Regions from separate parts of the Homo sapiens genome. Here region 1 is linked to region 2. The links are contacts of gene promoters, found by promoter capture Hi-C in human tissues and cell types (Jung and others, 2019). All regions are on one chromosome and are shown on one strand. The core of a region is centred on a gene start or on the middle of the fragment in contact, and the rest is flanking DNA. Distances in the headings are between cores, read along the strand shown. Region 1 has its middle 21 kb from the start of OR2T2. Region 2 holds the start of OR2M7 (olfactory receptor family 2 subfamily M member 7).

Region 1 (3,533 bases), core at 817-3,316, 100 kb after region 2:
AGTTTATGAGTAATCCTTTATTTTTAAGCCCATTTGATACCTTGCAGTTACAACATATAAGAAAATACATGTACATGTAACATAAACACAACTCAACATAGATACACGGATACAAAGATCCCATAGATTTTATTTCAGAATTCTAGTCACAAGACAGCAATACAGATTCACCAGCTTGCAAAAGATGGTTTAATTTAAACAATGGGTTTTATCTCAATACCAGTAGAAAAGCAACAATACATTTAAAACAGAAAAAGAAAAGAGAGAAATCAAGAACTAAGCAGATGCCATATTTAATTCTATAGTTGCAGGTCAACTTTGAGCTCTGAATTTACCCATCAGTTTACAAATGTGCCAGAACAGACTATAATACATAACCAGCCAGAGTACTAGAAAACCAAGCATGCTCTCAAAACTTCACATTTACACAAACAATTGCGAGTGCCATAAAACCCCCAGGGGTGCCCCAAAGGAGGTCATCTCCTTGTCTTTTCTCAATCTTAGAGGATTTGCTTCCCAGGTTTTCTTTTTTTTAATGGAGGAGCCAGACTGTAGTGTGGGTTTCAGTGCAGTGGGGCTCAGAAGCTGTCTCTCATTCATTTACACAAAGTCAGGTTTTTCAAGCAAATGCACAGATGAACCAATTGAGACTAATTTTTGGAGAAAAAAGCAATGAGAAGACTCTAGAATGAACCTGTGAATCCAAAATTAGAATCTGAAACAACAAGTTCCCAGGAAAAGACCAGCTCAGAATAAACCAAAGTACTATTAACCACGTAAGGGTTCTGTGGCTCAGGAAGACTTACTTACCAGTTCCACCTATGGAGAAGCTCAAAGTCAGGAGGCTTTCAATGAGCCTGCAGCAGGAGAATATGATCTGGAGACCTGGAGACAGGGAACTTAAGGCCAATTTATGCTAACTTCCTAAAAGAGAAAACACCAAGGTCTGGAAGCAGGACCTGGACAACTTGTAGTCAAGACCCTCCACTGGTAACAAGCCCATATTGGTACCTTATTTCCAAGTTCACACAACTTCTTTTGGGGAGGAGAGTCCTTAGTCTTCTCTGAGGTCCTGCATTGGGCACCAAATAATGTTGATGAAGAAAAGTGAAACTCTAAAATATTTGAAGAGGTTTATTCTGAGCCATGAGTGACCATGGCCCAGGACACAACCCCAGATGTTCCTGAGAATATGTGCCCATTGTGGTTGGGTTATAGCTTGGTTTGATACATTTTAGGGAGACAAAGTTATAATCAAAGAGATAAATCAATACATGAAGGGTATATATTGGTTCCAGAAAATTTAGACATGTTAAAGTCAAGGCTCCCAGGTCAGAAATAGATTCACCAATTTTCTGATTGGCAATTGGTTGAGTTAAGCTTTGTCTAAAGACTTAAAACGTCAGTAGAAAGGAATGCATAAGATTACATAGTTGTGGAAGCCAAGGTTTTTGTTATAGAAAGAAACGCTTGAGTTAAGATAATGGGGTTGCGGAAGCCAACGTTCTTGTCATGTAGAGGAAGCTTCCATGTATCAGGCTTTAGAAACAATAGTTGGCAAATGTCTCTCTTTCACCTTAAAAGGTGTCAGGTTCTTAGTTACTCTCTCCTGGATCTGGAAAAGGCTTAGCGGCATTAATAAAGTTTCTCTACAGATGCAAAATTTCCCCCACAAAAGATAGCTTTGCAGGGCCATTTCAAAATTTGTCGAATAAATATATTTCAGGGTAAAGTATTTTTATTTACTTCATGGTTTGCTATCTGTCATGTGGTGCTATATGAGAGTCAGGTTGAAATTTAGTATCTTATTACCACCTATAATCTGTTTTGTCAGTCTCATGATCTCTGTTTTAATGTTAATGCTGGTCAGTCATTTAGCACTCAATGGAAATGCTAGAGACCACAAGTATTTAGCTTAACTCTTTCAACAAATTGCCAGTCAAAAAACTTTTTAATCCACCTATGAAAGCTTCTCAGTAGCAGGCTTCAGAGAGGATAGATGGTAAAAGGTGTCAGACTCTTAGTTAAATGTTTTCTGGATCCTTATGAGACATAGAAAGGGAAGCAGATTCTATACAGAATTCAGATTTCCCCCAGAAGAGTTGGCTTTGCAGGGCCATTCCAAAACATGTCAAAGAAATACATTCTGCGGTAAAATACTTTTATTTCCTTCAGGGCCTGTTATCTGTCATGTGATTCTATATCAGAGTCAGGTTGGAATTTGCTATTGTTGCCACAGTCTGTTTTGTCCGTCTTATAATCACTGTGTTAATGTTAATGCTGGTCAGTTGTACCTAAACTCCAAACAAACGGAGTACAAGGAGTCATGTCTGACCTCCCTTCCTGTCATGGCCTGAACTAGTTTTTCAGATTTCTTTGAGATCTCCCTGGGCAAGAGAGTTCCCATTCAGTCAACTACAGGGCTTGGGATTTATTTTATTATTATTATTATTACTATTTTCTGAGGTTGCAACACAGAGCCCAAGTAGGAGGTCTAATTTTGGATAGAGGCAGAAACACTGTCTCATGGAATGCAAGAGTAAATACAATAAAATCAGAGAGATGGAAAATAGAGTACACTCAAGTATGTTGCTTATTTTCAGTCTTCTGATGCCTAATCCCTCATTGTTTTGTAGTCACATGGTTATTTCTTGGTTCTTTTATAACATTTTTCACAACTGGATTGCTATGATTGTGCAGACACTGTCTACTAGAGTCAAATTTTGTTTTGAAATAGTTCATTATTTTATTTAACTGCGTAAACTAGTTTAGTCTATGATGAATTAATAGACAGATGTGAAAAATTTTAAACTCCTCTGTCAGGGCTCAGAACAAGATCCTTCCAAATATGGCTTCTTGATGAAATCTAAAAGTAAAACCCTAAGCCCCCCAATCAACTGAATGGATTCCCCTTCTTGGCCAGTGGAGCTGAGAGCAATCTGAAAAAGTAAATTTCAGGCCATGAGGGAAGGGGGATTGGGCACACCTTGTTGCACTCCCTCCATTGTGGAATTAACATTAAAATAGAGATCACAGGACTGACAAAACAATAAGATACCAAATTCCAACCTGACTCCCATATAGCATCACATGACAGATAGTAGACACTGAAAGAAATAAAAATATTTTACCACAAAATATATTTATATGACAGATTTCGAAATGGCCCTGCAAAGCTATCTTTTGTGGGGGAAATTTTGCATCTGCCATTAGTGCAGCTAGGCCTTTTCCAGATCCAGGAAAGATAGACTGTGAGGCTCACACCTTTTAAGGTCCAAAAAGAGACATTTACCATCTATTCTTTCTGAAGCCAGCTACATGGAGGCTTCATATATGTAACAAGAATCTTAGCTTCCACAAACTCCCTTACCTTAACTCAAACATTTTTTTCTACTGACTTCAAGTCTTTAGTTTAACTCTTTCAACCAATTGCCAATCAGAAAAATCTTTGCATCCACCTATGACTCATAAGCCTTCCACTTCATGTCCTGCTTTTTCAGGCTGAAACAATGTATATTTTACATGTATTGATT
Region 2 (3,437 bases), core at 819-3,318:
CTGGCAATGGAATAATATCCAGAATCTACAAAGAACTCAAACAAATTAGCAAGAAGAAAACAAACAATCCCATCAAACTGGGATTGGGCTAAGGGACTTGAATAGACAGTTCTCAAGGAGATATACAAACGGCCAAAAAGCATAAGGAAAAATGCTGAACATCACTAATTATCAGGGAAATACAAATCAAAACCACAGTGCAATACAAACTCACTCCTGCAAGAATGGCCATAATCAAAAAATCAAACAATAATAGATGTTGACATGGATGTGGTGAAAAGGGAACCCTTTTACACTGTTGATGGGAATGTGAACTATTACAACACTAGGAAAAACAGTGTGAAGATTCTTTAAACAACTAAAAGTAGATTTACCATTTGATCCAGCAATACCACTACAAGGTATATACTCAGAAGAAAAGAAGTCATTATACAAAAAAGGTACTTACATGTTGCATGTTTATATCAACACAATTTGCAATTGCAAATAGATGGAATCAGCCTAAATGATCATCAGTCAATGAGTGGATAAATAAAAGGTGGTATATACATACCATGGGATACTATTCTTCCATAAAAATGAATTAATTAATAGCATTTGCAGCAACCTGGTTGGAATTGGAGACTATTATACAAAGTGAAGTCACACAGGCATGGAAATCCAAACATCGTATATTCTCACTCATATGTGCCAGCTAAGCTATGAAACACCAAGGCATAAAAATGATACACTGGACTTGGGGACTTGGAAGAAATGTTGGGGACTGGAGAGGGCTAAAAGACTACACATTAGGTACAGCGAACACTGCTTGGTTGATCGCTGCACTAAAATCTCAGAAATCACCATTAAAGAACTTATTAATGTAACCAAACACTATGTGTTTCCCAAAATGATAATGAAATTTAAAAATAAAAATGGAATGTCTTTATTGAAAATGCCTTATATTGTAGTCATAACTGAATTGAATATTAAAAAATCTAAAATAGTTTATCTGAAATAAATTATACTGGTACCCATCAATATGTTGAGCAATGCACACAATTAGTGATATTTTTAGGACTTAATAGAAAAAGAGAGACAATAAAAAGAAGACGTTAGCAGACAGCAAAACATGAAATTTATGAGGTAACTCAATCTCCAGACTTGCCCTTTCCTAAGATTTTCATTAATGCTCTGGTCACTTCCTTGTTGCGGAGGCTATAAATGAGAGGATTCAGCATGGGAGTGACGATGGTGTAGAATACAGACACCATCTTGTCCTGCATAGGAGAATGATGAGATGTGGGCTGAATGCACATGAACAAACCTGCTCCATAGTACATTCCCACCACCATGAGGTGAGAGGAACAAGTAGTAAAAGCTTTGCGACGTCCCTCTCCAGATCCCATGTGAATGACAGCCAGAATAACTCGAGCATAGGAAGTGATGATGATTGCAACAGGGAAAACAAGCATTACTATACAGCAGATGAAAATAACCTCTTCAAATATTGATGTGTCATTGCATGAGAGGATTAGTAGGGAAGGGAAGTCACAGCAGAAGTGGGCTATTTCCCGAGACCCACAGTAGGAGAAGGAAAATGTCGCTACAGCATCAATGATTCCATCTGTAGAGCCCAGGATCCAGGAGAAGGCAGTCATAAGTCCACAAATTTTGGGTCTCATGAGATTGGTGTATCTTAGAGGGTGGCAAATGGCAGTGTAGCGGTCATAAGACATAACAGCCAACAGAAAGCATTCGGAGCCAAGCAATGATATATAGAAGAAAATTTGTGTGGCACAGCCAGCCATAGAAATGGACTTGCTGCCAGACAAGTAGTTGAAGGCCATCTTGGGTACAGTGGTGCAGATGAGCATGAGGTCCATGAGGGACAGTTGGCTGAGGAGGAAGTACATGGGGGTGTGGAGCTGGGTATCCAGGTAGATGAGGAGAACCATGATGGAGTTTCCCATGAAGGCCACTGAAAAGATGGCCAGGACCAGAAAGAAGAGGAAGGTGTGGGTGGGGCTATGATTGAAGATTCCCAGGAGGAGGAAGTCAGAGTTGAAGGTCTGATTCTCCCATGCCATGATGAATATGCCTGTTACCTAGCACCGCAAAAACAGTTCATTAATTTGATAAACATTTACCCAGTGCCTTATAAAGCATGTGATTATGGTAAATTCTGTAGTTTGGTGATCAATACAGGATGGCCAGAATTATAAAACTCAAAGTTTAAGAATTATGGAATCATAAAGAAATATGTTCTCTCAGCAGTGTCTCACTTATAAAATTATGGAGCTTGTCCTAACTTTTCTTCTAAGCATTCTTTTTCTCCATTGAAAAATTACAATAACAATATCTACTACATGATCAATGGAGTTTTTCCAAAAAGAATATGTCTCCAAAGCAAACAGTTCCTAAAACATCAGAAGCCTGTTACAGGTAAATTGATAGAGAAATTCAGGTTCAGTCACCATGTGACCAACACAATACTAGAAATGGACAATAAATTTGTGCCTTTATTCACATGATAGTAGGCATTTTTCCTACCAGAGTTAAGAAAATGTGTATGTTTACCTATTACTTTACAGTTTAAAGTATTTTATCTATACTTTATAGTAAGTTTTCTATACAGTAAGTGGATTCACTGAAAAGATTTTCAATTATACAAATCTAAGACATATGCTCTTTTTTCTATAGCCCAGTGTGATGCATTGAATTATGTTTCTTCCCCAAAAGATAGCAAGTGAGCTTGTTTAGAAATACATAAAGGGTATAATTAGTTAAGGTGAGGTCAAGTTGGAGCAGAGTGGGTCTCTCTAATTCAATATGACTCATGTTCTGATAAGTGGGTGGCCATGTGAAGACTGAGACACTGAGGATACCATGTGATAGGGGAGGCAGGGATTGGAGTGGTGCATCTACAAATCAAGAAATGCCAAAAACTGTTAGTTATAACAGGAACCTGGGAGAGAGGAATGGGACAGATTCATCCTCTTAGAGCCCTCAGAAGTGTCCAACCCTGCTGACAACTTGATTTCAGATTTCTAGACTCCAAAACTATGAGAGAATAAATTTCTATTGTTTTAGGTAACCTGTTTGTGATTTCTCTGTACTGGCATTCGTAGGAAATTAATACATCCAATATATCCTATAGAAAATAAGTAGATATAAAAACAGAAATTAAGAAAAGCATGAGATTCATCCTTTCAACAACATTTATGAAGCCTGGCTATGTGTTGATCACTGGGGCTACCACAGTGACCAGAATAAAGAAAGCCCGTGTCCATACAGGTCATAGTGAGTGTGATCAGATGATGATTATAAAACACTTTATGTCATAAGAGGATAAACATTTTGGAGAAAAGTAAGTCAAAGAAGGGTGTTAGAAATGCACTAGTATGTTCACCTTTGAATAAAGTAGTCAAGGGAAACCTCACACATCTAATGGCTTT

Evidence for each region. Contacts are between HindIII fragments. The study calls those that stand out against the background at their distance.
Region 1: a contact is called between a fragment that was not itself captured here and the fragment with the promoter of OR2M7 in region 2, in 3 of the 25 tissues and cell types used here (neural progenitor cells, ovary and small bowel).

What each region holds. Positions count from the first base shown.
Region 1 is chr1:248,422,651-248,426,183 of GRCh38, forward strand. No RefSeq gene overlaps it. Among named protein-coding and RNA genes, the nearest start is that of OR2T2, 21 kb to the right of the region's middle. The HindIII fragment of the contact is 4,581 bases long and covers 1-3,533 here.
Region 2 is chr1:248,322,500-248,325,936 of GRCh38, forward strand. It overlaps OR2M7 (olfactory receptor family 2 subfamily M member 7), which reads right to left and starts at 2,069. Exons shown (of 1, transcript NM_001004691.1): 1 at 1,131-2,069. The coding sequence starts at 2,069. The coding sequence ends at 1,131. The HindIII fragment of the contact is 10,500 bases long and covers 1-3,437 here.